Linked DNA regions of Homo sapiens: all the other regions are linked to region 1. Evidence: promoter capture Hi-C in 16 types of primary human blood cells and fetal thymus (Javierre and others, 2016). All regions are on one chromosome and are shown on one strand. Each heading gives the region's core, a stretch centred on a gene start or on the middle of the fragment in contact. The rest is flanking DNA. Distances are from core to core; before and after follow the strand shown. Region 1 holds the start of IRF2 (interferon regulatory factor 2). Region 2 has its middle 37 kb from the start of ENPP6. Region 3 overlaps LOC105377582 (a long non-coding RNA gene). Region 4 holds the start of LOC105377582 (a long non-coding RNA gene).

Region 1 (3,349 bases), core at 567-3,066:
AAAGCCACCTCGCTCTTCTGAGCTACCTCGGCCGCCAGTCCCCGGGATCACATCCGCAGCCGAGCGCCAAGGGTCCGGCCTACACAGACTGACCCGGGCGTTTCACCTGGTGCCCGACCACGGCTCTGGCGCCCTGCCCAGGCTGCCCGCCTCCTTCCCCTCCCCCGCTTCTTAGGGAACAAGGAGGAGAGGGTGGCAAACGCACCCAGACCGGGGGCCAAGGGGAGACGCCGGCGCGTGCTGGGAGGGGCATGAGTTACACCCGCGACCCTTGGAACTTGGAACGGCTTCCCCAGCCCCGGCGGACGCCGGCCCCCAGGCCGTGCCACTGGGAGCAGGCGGGCGCCGCGATTGGCCGCGGCCGGCTTCACTCGGTGGGCGAGCCCTACCGGCGAGGCGGAAAGGAAGTGGCGGCCGCCGCGGCTTTGCACCAACCATGTTCGGCCAGCGGGCGAATGTCACCCGGCGCCCGGAGCCGGGTCGGAGGGCACGGGGCGGGCACTCGCGTCCCCACCCCGCCGCGGCCCGCGCCCCGGGACCCCGAGGGGACGCCGGCCCCCACTGCGCCGCTCGGTCCCCGGAGGCTCCCCGCCCCCACCTCGCCCGCTCCGTAGCCGAGGCGGGTCAGGCCCAGCGCGCGAGGCCGGCCGGGGGCGCCTGCGGGGACCCGGGGGCGCACGGCGCTAGGCCGCGGCCCGGGCGGCTGACCCCTCGGCACGGTGCCTTCCTGGGACGCGCCGCCCGAGCCCCTGGCGCGCTGGGACAAGTGCAATGACAAAGCCCCAGGGCCCGACCGGGCGCTGGCCGGCGGGAAGGAGGACGCGGCGTCCCTTCTGAGCGGCGGCGGCGGCGGCCCAGCCCCCAGGAAGCAGGGCGCGTCGGCCAGGCCCGGCGCCCGGCCCGGCTCCGAGCCCGCCCTCCCGCCCCGGCCGCTGGCACCCGACGCCCGCGACCCGACCCCGAGCCCGGCAGGCAGGCGAGCCCCTGGACCGCCGCGGGGCGCCCCAGCAAGTTTCCTCTGGCCGTGGCTGGAGGCGCTCCTCCCGGCCGGGGAGCGGTGCCTGCTTATTTACGCTGGAGGCAGCCTGGAGAGGCGCCGCCGCGGGCACCGAGAAGGACCCGCTCCCCTCCTTCGGATCCGGTGGCGGCGGTGGCTGCACACACACACACGCGCGCACACACAAACACGCACATACACACAATTTTGTTTTAAATGAGGCCCGACTCCAGCTGACCTGCACCCCCACACACAACACCTGGGGCGCAGAAGCACACACAGCAGGTCTGTGTCCATGGAGCCACCTCTCCGCATCTGCAAATCCAAAAGTGAAATTAAACCTCCACCAACCTCCTCCTCCTCCTCCCTCTCTACCTCCTCCTCCTCCTCCTCCTCGCAGCCTCAGCAGCCCCAGTAGCAGCAGCAACAGCAGCAGAACCTGCTTCCCCTAAAATCAGATGATCCATAATTGCGCCGACTGTTCCTCCAAAAATCAGTATTAATATTTATGAACCCCGGCATTTTCCGTCTGCAAAACATCGTGTCAAGGCATCAGGACACGCATACACACACGGCCCCCCACAGTCCCCAGAAACATGCCCTCGAGAGAAACACACACAGTCACAACTATTATTTGAAAAATGTTACCTCTCAGTGTGCTTTTTTCACGCTACCAATACAATTCCGCAAGGTATAAGTGTTGCTAGGGTATGTGAAATGGAAATGAAAGCCCGTCAGTTGAATAATCGCAGGAGCAAAACTAAAAGTTACTCCCCGGCTTGCCTGAGAACAGTCCAGATCGAAAGCAAAACAAGGAGAGGAAACTGCGAAGAGCCGCGGCTGGAAATCCCCCCACCCCCCGCCCTCCTCCGGCCGCGCTCCCTCCCTCGCCTCCCCTCTCCGCCCTCCTCCCTCCGCCCTTCCTCCCCAGTGTTTGTTTCAAGCTTGTGCAACCGGGAGGTGGAGGCGGAGGGAGGGCGCGAGCGGCCCGGCCGGGAGGTGCGGAAGTTCGCCGCAGCAGCTCATTGGCGGGCAGCGCCGCTTTCATCATTTCTCGGAAAAGTCAATTTCATTTTCGCTTCCCCAGGTCGCGGCGGCGGGAGCAACAAGCAGCGGCTCGTGAGTCCGCGGCTCGCACCCAGGGGCGCCCGCACGTGCGGCTAGAACGTCCGAGTCGGGGTCCGGGGCGGGGGGCGCAGGCCCGCGGCGGTAGGGGAGGAGAGCGGGCACCCGAGTCTCCATCCTCAGGGTGGCCTGAAGGTTCCAGGAGGGCGTCCGGCGAAGGCACGGGGCTGCGACCATCCAGTTAGCAGGGCTGGTGTGACTGTTGAGAGTAAATGAAAATTCGTTTTGTGACACCGACCACCTCCAAGGAATGAAAGGAGCAGTCAGCCGAAACGACAGCATTACTTGCGTCCTTACCTAATTGGAACCTTATCCGTGGCTGAGGGTGCCACCATTGGAGGGGCCGCCGCCCCCTCTGACACCACCTGGCGCTCCGCTCCATTTAGGAGCTAGAACGAAAAGGAGGCCCATCCCCCAGTAAGTCACAGCCCACGCCAAGATGAGTTCTGGAGCCTGTGCGACCGAAGTTTCTTCACCGCAGGGCGAGGTGGACAAGGGTGTGAGTTACTTTGACTTCAAGACGTCTCAGTGGCGGCTGGTTCTGGAGAGAGGCTTTATGCTGGAGCACTTCCAGCAAAGTTCGGCTGGGGCCTCCTTAACTCACTGGCTGGTCACCCTTGGCCTCGGTTTTCAACCAAAGCCTAAGGCCTCAGTTTTCAACGCTGTAAATGGAAATAAATGAGAGAAGAAAGTACAGCCCGTGTGACAAGTGCAGCAAGCAATGCAACTTCCTTGGGACCTACCCTTTGTGGTCCCTTGCTTTAAAAGTATAGATTCACATTTAGTTAGACCTGTTTCTTCCTCGCATGCAATTTCACCAGTCTTTTCCCAGACTTCTGTACTCAACAGAGGAAGTTCCTTCCTGGGAGACCATAGCTGTTTGTATGTAAAGAGTTGCGAAAAAACAAAAGCAAAACAAAAAACTCCAACACCTCTCTGTCACAGAAGTATTGAATTATATAGACTGGAAAAATGGAAGTATCCAAGAAAACGCGTGTGGTAAGAAAATGGCTAAGGTGCAGGATTCTGTTTTGTGGCTCTGGTCTCAGAAATAGACCTCACATACACATTATTCCTTATCCCCTCTATTATAATACTCACTTTTTTTTTTTTTTAAGAGACAGGGTAGGCCGGGTGCAGTGGCTCATGCCTGTAATCCCAGCATTTTGGGAGGCCAAGGCAGGAGGATCACCTGAGGTCGGGAGTTTGTGACCAGCCTGACCAACA
Region 2 (3,349 bases), core at 241-2,740, 220 kb before region 1:
CGTGCCACACTCGAATTCTCACAGGGCCTCAGCCGCCTCCCCGCAGAGCAGGGCTTGGAACCTGCAGCCCGCCATGCCCGAGCGGCCCACCCCCGCCGTGATGTGCTCCTGCACCGCCCGAGCCTCCCTGACCGGCACCGCCCCCTGCTCAGGGGCACCGGGTCCCATTGACCACCCATGGGCTGAGGAGTGCAGGCGCCGTGTGCGGGTCTGGTGGGCAGCTCCGCCCACGGCCCTGGCACGGGACCCACTAGGCGAAGCCAGCTGGGCTCCTGAGTGGGGTGGGGACTTGGAGAACTTTTATGTCTAGCTAAAGGTTTGTGAACACACCAATCAGCACTCTGTTTCTAGCTTAAGGTTTGTAAACACACCAATCAGCACCCTGTGTCTAGCTAAAGGTTTGTAAATGCACCAATCAGTGTTCTGTGTCTAGATAATCTGGTGAGGACTTGGAGAACTTTTATGTCTAGCTAGAGGATTGTAAATGCACCAATCAGCACTCTGTGTCTGGCTCAGGGATTGTAAACACACCAATCAGCACCCTGTCAAAAGGGACCAATCAGTTCTCTGTAAAACAGACCAATCAGCTCTCTGTAAAATGGACCAATCAGCAGGATGTGGGTGGGGCCAGATAAGGGAATAAAAGCAGGCTGCCCCAACCAGCAGTGGTAACCTGCTCAGGTCTTTTTCCGGTCTGTGGAAGCTTTGTTCTTTTGCTCTTTGCAATAAATTTTGCTGCTGTTTACTCATTGGGCCTGCACTGCCATTATGAGCTGTAACCGTCACTTCCTAGACCTGCCGCTTCACCCTTGAGGCCAGCAAGACCACAGACCCACTGGGAGGAATGAACGACTGCGGATGGGAGGAATGAATGACTACAGGCGCACCGTCTTAAGAGTTGTAACACTCACCGTGAAGGTATATAGCTTCAGTCCTGAAGCAGCGAGACCACGAACCCACCAGAAGGAAGAAACTTTGAACATGTCCGAACAGCAGAAGGAACAAACTCCCAACACACCATCTTTAAGTAAACTCTCACACTCACCACGAGGATCTGTGGCTTCATTCTTGAAGTCAGTGAGACCAAGAACCCACCAATTCCGGACACACCAGGGTCTTGTTCCTCAGTACTCCTTCCCATATTGAGAGGAGCTGGTCCTGCCATTCTCCCTGACACTGGCCAGGCATTAAGTATATTTGCAGGCTGAATATCTTTCTTGTGTTGTATGTTTGTCTCCTCCAGCACTACACATTCTGTGAATCTATTTGTAGCCTTTCAAGCAATTGATAAAACACTGATACTTTTGCCTCTGCCTCTGCATCTATTCCGTAGTGAGTTGCATCAAAACAAGACCCAACGCTTTCCCGTGTCGCAAGATGATGAGTGAAAAATTGAGCAGCGGGAAGCTAAGGAAAGAAACCTGTAGCCAAGAAGGCTCATGCCAGTGGCAAGATTAAGAAGGGTAATCTCAAACCCAAAGAGCCCAGGATGGGGAAGCCCCTCTGTAGCAGAAACCCTGTCCCATCAGGGGTATGGGCAGATATTCCTGACCTGCTTGTAGTCCAGAAAAGCCATGTACAAGAGGAAGCATTCAGCCGCTAAATCCAGATTTGGAAAAAAAAAAAAAATGGTTCTTGCTACTGTCACAAAACCAGCAGAGGATGATAAGAATGGAGGTGCCTGGATGGTAAAACTTCCGGAAATGCCTACCTATGTGCCTACTCAAGATGCGCCTTGGAATCATGGAGCCCTGGCAAACAAAACAAAACCCTTCAGTCAGAACGTGGGAAGGCTGCAGGCAGCCTCACTCCCCCGGGACTGCTCCCATCATCCTCACTGGGCGCCACGGAGTCCAGAGGGTGGTTTTCCTGAGCTGAGCAGTAATTAGACCTCTGCTTCTCAACTGAGTTCCTCTGTGTGGAACATACTGGAAATGTGTCATCAGCACCTCCATCAAAGTTGCGATGAGCAGTGTGAAAATCCCCCACATCTGGCTGCTGCACACGCACAGACACCAGGAAGGTGAGCACTTCCACACAGAGAAGGAAATGCGGCTTACACAGCAGTGCGAGACAGATCAGAAAGCTGTGGACTCACAAATGCTGCCCCGAACCAAAGCTGTCCCTCAGCTCTAGGGCTACCTTCATTCTGTGTTCTCACTCACAAACGCAATGTGTCCTGACCAACTGCGGTTCTCAATTTCTTGCAAAGAACCTAATTAAATAATGGATACATTTCAAACCAACCAACCAACCAAGCCTGGGTGCTTCTTGCAGAAAGCTTCCAGCCCTTTTTGCTGGATGGGAGCCCAGTCCTCACTGCTGCGAGAGGAGCAGGGGCAGAAACAATGAGTGCTGTCCCCAGCTGCCCCCAGCCAGGCCTCCAGGCCCAACTCCTGCTGCACCTAGGGGGCCGCCACCATGGGCTCCCAGGGACACACGCTTGCTGCCCAAGGGCAGTGTGAGCAGAAGGGCCTACTCCCTGCAGGCTTCAGGAGAACAAAGGCCCTGATTCAGGGCTGCAGTTTCCTGCTGCTGCTAGCAGAAGGCTGCAGGCCGGGCTCTCCTACCCAGGCAACATCACACTTCTGGCTTTCTTCACTGAGTCCCCAATAAATAGGAGGCTTTGAGCTGCAAAATGTGATGCTGTATTTCATGAAACCCCAGAGACCCCAAATGACTGCCCCTGTGCTTCTGAGGGGTTTCTTAAGGGTAGTGTGTTTCCAGGATGAGTTACAATACCTTTTGTCCCACAAGCGAGACACTTTTGCATATGTGCCACTCTGGTTCGGCCCGCGAGGCTGTAGCGGGGGCTGACACGTGGTATTTTTGTGGGGAGTCATTGCCATTTGCTTTGACTGAGACTTTTCGGAGGGCTTTGCTGTCAAATTTTCACTGCGCCTGCACGGTCAGTAAATACCCTCTTCCAGCCTCCTTCCAGGCTAAAAACCAGTGTGGAAAAGTTTAGTCGTGTGTTTGACGCAACTGCATCTCGTTGCTATGGAAACCCAGGCTGCTACATAAACCTAATTCTATATTCCTCTGGCTTATCCCACTTTTCACTAGCAATTTTAAAGGAGATTTTCACCTTCCCTGGGTATTAACCTTTGACTTGGAGACACTAGAGTGGCTTTGTGGATTGTAGAATATCCGTATGCAAGAACTCACAAAACCACATCCAAAACAGCCATTTCATAGGCTGTGGTCTCTCGACACGGAGGCCCACTCAGCCAAGAAGACAAGCTCCGTTGAGTCCTTCTCCAAGAAGGACCAAGAGCACCAGAGAAGGGCCGGCCGGCAGCCCTGTGATGAGAAGCACTCTGGTGGCGCACCCAAGCTGCAAGGACCG
Region 3 (3,349 bases), core at 347-2,846, 200 kb before region 1:
CTGTGGCCATCCAGTGCCCACAGGCTCAAGGCTTCCTGCTGACTTGGGCGTCTTAGTATGGGAGCTCCCCTCCCCAAGGCCTGACCCAGCAATGCCCGTGTTCAGACTTTCCTAGGCCCTCAACCCTCTGGCTTCCCTCTTTTCCCACGTACATGGCTTGCTTTCTAATCTGCAACCATATTTTGATAAATACATCACAGGGTCAAATGAAATCCCCACCACCCGTTGTGTAAAACATTTGAATTGTTTGTAGATATGCCCAGTCTTGGAGAAAAAAATCAACTGTTGAGAATTTCTGGGTCATTTCCTCAGCACTGGATGTTCACTAGCAGATTTTAATCAACCCACACAGAGGCTTTGGAACTGTCATCTATGAATGTTACAGAAATAACAGAAATGGGCTTTCCGCTTCAGGGGTGGCCATCAGGGCCGGTAACCATGGTAATAACCAGAAGCACCCAAGCCACGTGGTGGATTCCTCTGGGCTCTGACCCGGGGGTCTTCATTTCTTGCACTCCCCTCCTGCTTTTATGTTTCTTTTACTGTCCTTTTTCCTCCTTCTTCTTGATTCCTTCCTGCACTCCGTACTCTGGAATTATTTCCAAAGGGCAGGAGCGTATCTGTGTCCCCTTGGTCCCCTAAGGCAGGCAGGCGTTTTTCTGCTTTGGTCCCTGCTGTGCCTGTAGTACTAGAACAGTGTCCAGCATACCACAGGAGCACGTTTGGTGAATGAATGAATGAATCAATCAATCAATCAATGAATCAGTCAGTCAATCAATCAATAAGGAGGCTAGCTGCCTGGGTACATAGTCACCATCATCACATTTAATACTCGCCAGGGTTACGGGTCAAAACCCGTGGGTTCTCCTGGCCTCACAGATGCATCAACAATGGGCAGTTTGGTTCTAGAATCTCATCCCTCCTCCAACAAAAAGCATTCATTGAGATGAAATAAAAGTGTCCCTTGTGACTCTACAGTTTCGGCTACCCTTCACTTCTCAGTCACTGTGAGCCAAGACCAGAGTTCTGACTCCTAGGAAGCCTCAGAGCTTGATGCAGCTTCCCGTCTGGGTTTCCAGAAACAACTGGGAGGCCAGTTGTTTTCTAGAGTTCTGTTTCCTCTGGCTTCACACCTATTCAGTCTATAAAAGTTGCTCAGCAGAAACCCCACCATCCCATCCCTATCTGTGGCTGTCGTAAAGGAGGCTGTCTTGAAGGCTGGGGGAGTCCTGCTGCCCTCCCACCTTCTGTTCCTGAGCTCTGTGCCTCCAGGCGGGAGGCAGCCCATACACCAAGGCAGCACTTGAGATCAGGTCTCCAGACATTCCCTGAACACCACTTGTGCACAAGCTCTTCTTTCTTTCTTTCTTTTGAGGCAGGGTCTCCCTCTGTCGCCCAGGCTGGAGTGCAGTGTTGCAATCTATCTCAGCTCATTGCAACCTTGACCTCCCAGGCTCAAGCAATCCTCCTACCTCAGCCTCCTAAGTACCTGGGACTACAGGAGCACACCACTATGCCTGGCTAACTTTTGGATTGTTTGCAGAGATGCAGTTTCGCCATGTCGACCAGGCTAATCTCGAGCTCCTGGGCTCAAGAAATCGGTCTGCCTCAGCCTCCCAAAATGCTGGGATTACAGGCATGAGCCACCACGCCAAGCCAGCAAGCTCTTGCAGCACAGAGATGAACGCCCCAAGGGGACACTTGGCCTAGTGATTGGCCAGATACTCCACCATGCACTTTTCATGAGTTTTCTCATTTAACCCTCGAAAGAACCCTCTGAGGAGTGACTGTTCTTAGCCCATTTCACAGATGAGGAAACTGACGCTTAGATAGGTTAAATGACTTGCCCCATGCCACAGAATTACTCAGCAGGGGAGTCAAAATGTGAACTCAAAGCTGACACTAAGCTGTGTTCTCTTAACATTCACAGGAACTCCGGGTGAGGACGACAAGAGCTGAGCTCGGGTGCTTGCCTTCTGCACTCTCGGGAGGAGGCACCAGCATGGGCACCCTTCACAGTTCGGGCCCCTCACTCACAAACGTCTGGCACATGGAAACAAGCTGGCAAAAAGATTGTTTTTTTCTTCTGTACTTTTTGTTATAAGCCTGTGGTGAAGTGTCCATATCTGGCATAAATGAATGTGAGTGGTCTTGGGAATCTAAATATAACATGTTTCTAAGTTACACACAGCATAAATGAGTGTTTATGAGTGGTCTTGGGAATCTAAATATAATACATTTCTAAATTACAACCAACCAACTTACAGGGGGCATTTTGGTCTTTAACCTGTTTATTAAATCAGACACTGCCTGAACTTTCCTCTGAAGGAAGAGAGGAATGAGTATTTACTGAATGCTAATTAAGTGCTACTCACATTACTGGAATGCTTCTCTCTGATCCACCAGCCCCAGGAGAAAGGCCCTGTCCTCATTTTGCAAGCGAGGAAATGGAGGCTCAGAGGAAAGGGTTTATCTTCCCCCTGGGCTCGGCAGAACCAACAGCCAGCCCCAACTCCACCCCAAAGCCTGGATGTGGCCGTGGCTCCAGAGTGGGCCGCCCCTTTCACCATCTGTGCATACTGGGTCGGAGCTGAAATCTGTGATCACCCTTCTGAGCCCTACCCCAAGGACACTGAATCATGTGGTCAGGCTCCCAGCTCAGCACAGCCCTGACTATCAGCTCCATGTGTTTAGCAGCCTGGCCCCAGAATCAAAGCCACTGTTGAGGACACTCAGTATGAAGGAGACCACTTCAGGCCAGTGACAGATTCTCTCCTGGACCAAACTCGACTGAGGCTCCCCTGAGCCCTCTTCTCAACTAGGCCTCAACCCTGGCCTAGAAAGACTTGGACAAACACTAGCATGGCTTCTCATAGCTCAAGGCCGCATCCCTAGGTGACCCCAGCCACCTTGGGTGTCCTTGGGAGGCAATCCCAAGGACACACAAGGCTGCCAAACAAGTTTGCCATTTGCTCCAGCCAACACCCAGAGATCGGGCCCCTGTGCCCCAGTCTGTGAGGGAGGCTGTTAACAAACCCAGGTGGGTTTCTCATGGACCAAGCCCGCTCTGCTGTTTGTAGTTTTCCACTTCTCTGACCCCACTGAGCCCTGGTCACCCCTGCCCAATTCTCTCACTCTCCCTTTAAAACGCCCAGTCTCTACTGCACAAATCAAACTGGAGTTCAGTCTGGGCTGGGCCTTCTCCCTATTGCAATAGATATTACAATCCTTCTTTACCACTTAACTAGCATCTGGCTTGGTTTATTTTTGAGACCAACAGCTGGGGCAGGTGGAGCTGCCCCTCGGTGACAGTCCCTCTTAATACTCCACTGCCTACCCCACCCTCGCT
Region 4 (3,349 bases), core at 405-2,904, 180 kb before region 1:
TCTCTCTCTGTCAAAATATCTTACTGTATGTAATATTTTTGGACCATAGTTGAACACAGTTATAATATTTTGGACAGCATGGTTTCAGGTAACTGAAAAGCAAAGCGGCGAAGAAGGGAGAACTACTGTATGTTTTTTACTGTGTGTGTGTGTGTGTGTGTGTGTGCACGCACGCCTACCTAGCCCTACCTATCTCATCTATCTAATCTATTGCTTTTAAGGTGGTATTTTTTCCAAGGTGTCTTTCTATAATAATTAAGCCAATTTATACTCTCACTACAGCATATATAAATGTTTTCTTATACTGTCTACAGAAGGGTTTTACTTTTGTTTTTTGTAGGGCAGATAAATAAATATAGTATCTTATTGATTTTACATTTCTTTCATTGAGAATAAGACTGGCTACTTTCATATCGTTTTTGACAGTTCATTTCTTTTCTTTTGATTAACAGCTTATTTTTTATTTCTACTAATTCTGTGTGTGGTTGTTCACCTTTATTTTTGTTCTTACCAATCTAAAAACTCTCACACAGGTTAAGAATGTCAGCCTACATCTGAGTGTCAATAAGGTGCAGATAGTCAAGGAATAATGCCTCACAGTGTAGTGACATGCTGCCACAGAAGAGGCCCCCAGGAAAATGCAGTTTGGGAGCCCCTTAAGCAAATATAACTTCATGGGAAGATTGTCCTTCTTTGGTCTCTGATATGGTTTGGATCTGTGTCTCCACCCAGATTCATTTGAATTGTAATTCCCAACGTAGGAGATGGGGCCTGGTGGGAGATGATTGGATCATGGGGGCAGTTTCTCATGCTTTTCATGGGGGCAGTTTCTCATGCTTTACTACCATCCCCCTTGGAGCTATCGTCCTGATAGTGAGTTCTCACATGATCTGGTTATTTAAAAGTCTGTGGCACCTCTCTGCTCTCTTGGTCCTGCTCCTGCCATGGAAGACACCTGCTCCCGCTTTGCTGTCCACCATGATTGTGTGTTTCCTAAGGCCTCCCCCAGAAGCAGAAGCTGCTATGCTTCCTGTACAGCCTGCAGAACCATGAGCCAATTAAACCTGTCTTAAAATACATTCCTCAGTCTCAGGCATTTCTTTCTTTATAGCAGTGCAAGAATGGACTAACACACTCTCCATATTGACACCTCGCTTGTAAAGCTGGCCGATGCAGCATTGCAATCAAGTGGTAGATTTTGAATGTCTGAGTGTGATTAGACTCTAGTTGTTTGTTGTTAAATGATTGGTCTGAGTGTGATTAGACTCTAGCTGTTTGTTGTTAAATGATTGGTGAATGATGCCATCACAGGCCAGAATGTCCAGCCAGCCTCCATAGCAGGACCATCCCCGCTTATAGGAAATGGAAAGGCTCAGAGACTCCAGAGTGGCCCAGCACTGCCCCTGCCGTCCACCAGCTGGAATCAGGGCAGTGCACCTCCCAGTCTGTGTGTGTGTATGTGTGAGTGTGTGTGTGTATGTCTGTGTGTGTGTATGTGTGTGTGTATGTGTGAGTGTGTGTACATATGTGTGAGTGTGTGTATGTGTGTGTATGTGTGTGCGTGAGTATGTGTGAGTGTGTGTGTATGTGTGAGTGTGTGTATGTATGTGTGAGTGTGTGTGTGTGTGAGAGAGTATGTGCGAGTGTGTGTGGAGGGGCGGGGGTCTTGCAGTTGGTCATAGCTGCCCTTTACTTTCTCACAGTGTGTGTATGTGTGTGTGTGAGTGTGTGTGTGTATGTGTGAGTGTGTATGTGTGTGTGGAGGGGAGGGGATCTTGCATTTGGTCATAGCTGCCCTTTACTTTCTCACAGTGTGTGTGTGTGTGTATGTGTGTGTGAATGTGTGTGTGTATGTGTGTATGTGTGAGTGTGTATGTGTGAGTGTGTGTGTGTGTGAGTGTGTGTGTGTGTGTGTGGAGGGGAGGGATCTTGCAGTTAGTCATAGCTGCCCTTCACTTTCTCAGTGTTTTTGTGTGTGTGTGTGAGTGTGTGTGTGAGTGTGAGTGTGTGAGAGTGTGTGAGAGTGTGTGTGTGGAGGGGAGGGGAGGGGTCTTGCAGTTGGTCATAGCTGCCCTTCACTTTCTCTTTTGGTCAAGAGTTCTCCCTTTCTCCTCGTTAGAGAAAGATTGCCTTTGTTTTGCCAGTTTCCTGAAAGTCTGTATTTTCCGGGTATAAGCTCACTCATTGAGAAGAAGAGAGCCTATCCTTTCACCTCTAGAACAAGAAAGCCAGTGGGTAGTAAAATACACATAATGAAAATGATGTGTGCCCTAAACTTCAGGTGAACCAGCGAGAGTGTTTTACAGCACACACTCCAACCTAGAATCATTCACACGGGTCCAAATCCCAGCTTCACTCTCATCGCTAGACATAGGGCTCAATGTTCCAAATTTTAGCTCTTCTCATCTCTAAAATGGCAATTATATTAGTACCTATGTTTAAGGCAGTTGTGAGGATTAACTGAATTTTGGTCCACCTATGGATGCTGGCACAGCAGGCATTTTATGCGTAAAGTCTCTAATCATTATTTCTCCATCTCAGAATAGAGGAAGATCTCTGTGGGTGGAGGACCCTTACCAAAGTAGTTGGAGGGGACATCTTAGGTCATACGACTCTCTTCTCAAAGACTCTTGTTATATAGGAGTCCTATTTGGTTAAAAGGACTTCTCTTGTTTGTCCTGGATGTGACATCAGGTTTAAAAAAAATCTCACTCCCGTTCAGGAGCCTGGCAACCATGCATTACCCAACAATGGTTACCGTGGCTGCAAGGAGGAAGCAGACAGCAAGCCCACAGAAGTGTTTATTGAAGAAAGGGAAGTCAATAGTCCCTGGAGTTAATGAGTGATTGTTATTTATGGAAGGAATGGTATTTGCAGATGGGAATGACTGCAAAATGCATAGAAGGACACAGCCATGCCCTTTCCACGGAAGTCACAGAGCACACCTCAACACACTGAGAAGACGTCCACGACAGAGAAAGATGACGAAGGTCTCCTTTCTTCCACATCGTAGGAGATTTTCTGCCATAAACTCAGTTTATTCTATAGTTGTTTATGTCCTCAGCATTTTGGAGACAGCTGTTCTCATGAAGTGAAGACTGGCTCAGATTGTTTGATTAATTGCAAGAATTGTGGAAACGGGAGGAAGAATTCATGAAGGATGCCTCCCTTACCTGTACAGAGTTGTTTTCATTGATAAAGGGTTGTGATCTGTAAAATGGGGATATCGACATTTGTTTCAGGAGAATGAGCTTTATTTGGGCAGATTTGGCTTTGAATTCTGTTTCTACCTCTTAGAGATTGTGTGACAGTTGTTATTTAATATCTGAGTCTCAAATTTCTCATCTGT

The links. Contacts are between HindIII fragments. The CHiCAGO score rates a contact against its expected background, and 5 or more counts as called.
Region 2: a contact is called between a fragment that was not itself captured here and the fragment with the promoter of IRF2 in region 1, in 3 of 17 cell types (M1 macrophages, M2 macrophages and neutrophils). The highest score is 6.5, in M1 macrophages.
Region 3: a fragment that was not itself captured here is called in contact with the fragment with the promoter of IRF2 in region 1 in 8 of 17 cell types (naive B cells, M0 macrophages, monocytes and 5 more); the score reaches 9.7 in naive B cells.
Region 4: a contact is called between a fragment that was not itself captured here and the fragment with the promoter of IRF2 in region 1, in 5 of 17 cell types (naive B cells, neutrophils, monocytes and 2 more). The highest score is 8.9, in naive B cells.

The regions. Positions count from the first base shown.
Region 1 is chr4:184,472,734-184,476,082 of GRCh38, forward strand. It overlaps IRF2 (interferon regulatory factor 2), which reads right to left and starts at 1,817. Exons shown (of 9, transcript NM_002199.4): 1 at 1,646-1,817. It overlaps IRF2-DT (IRF2 divergent transcript), which reads left to right and starts at 2,069. Exons shown (of 1, transcript NR_186573.1): 1 at 2,069-3,349. RefSeq lists silencers at 76-145, 206-895, 976-1,025, 1,836-1,955 and enhancers at 1,986-2,175, 2,526-2,855. The HindIII fragment of the contact is 7,048 bases long and covers 1-1,939 here.
Region 2 is chr4:184,253,132-184,256,480 of GRCh38, forward strand. It overlaps the pseudogene RPL6P16. Among named protein-coding and RNA genes, the nearest start is that of ENPP6, 37 kb to the left of the region's middle. The HindIII fragment of the contact is 1,578 bases long and covers 702-2,279 here.
Region 3 is chr4:184,272,079-184,275,427 of GRCh38, forward strand. The region is part of intron 4 of LOC105377582 (a long non-coding RNA gene); the gene reads right to left. It overlaps LOC105377584 (a long non-coding RNA gene), which reads left to right. Exons shown (of 2, transcript XR_007058414.1): 2 at 1,931-2,184. Among named protein-coding and RNA genes, the nearest start is that of MYL12BP2, 41 kb to the right of the region's middle. RefSeq lists enhancers at 1,675-1,724, 2,015-2,184, 3,122-3,349. The HindIII fragment of the contact is 4,221 bases long and covers 1-3,349 here.
Region 4 is chr4:184,290,972-184,294,320 of GRCh38, forward strand. LOC105377582 (a long non-coding RNA gene) reads right to left here and starts at 2,641. Exons shown (of 6, transcript XR_939552.3): 1 at 2,578-2,641. LOC124900825 (a long non-coding RNA gene) reads left to right here. Exons shown (of 2, transcript XR_007058413.1): 2 at 2,723-3,349. The HindIII fragment of the contact is 9,454 bases long and covers 1-3,349 here.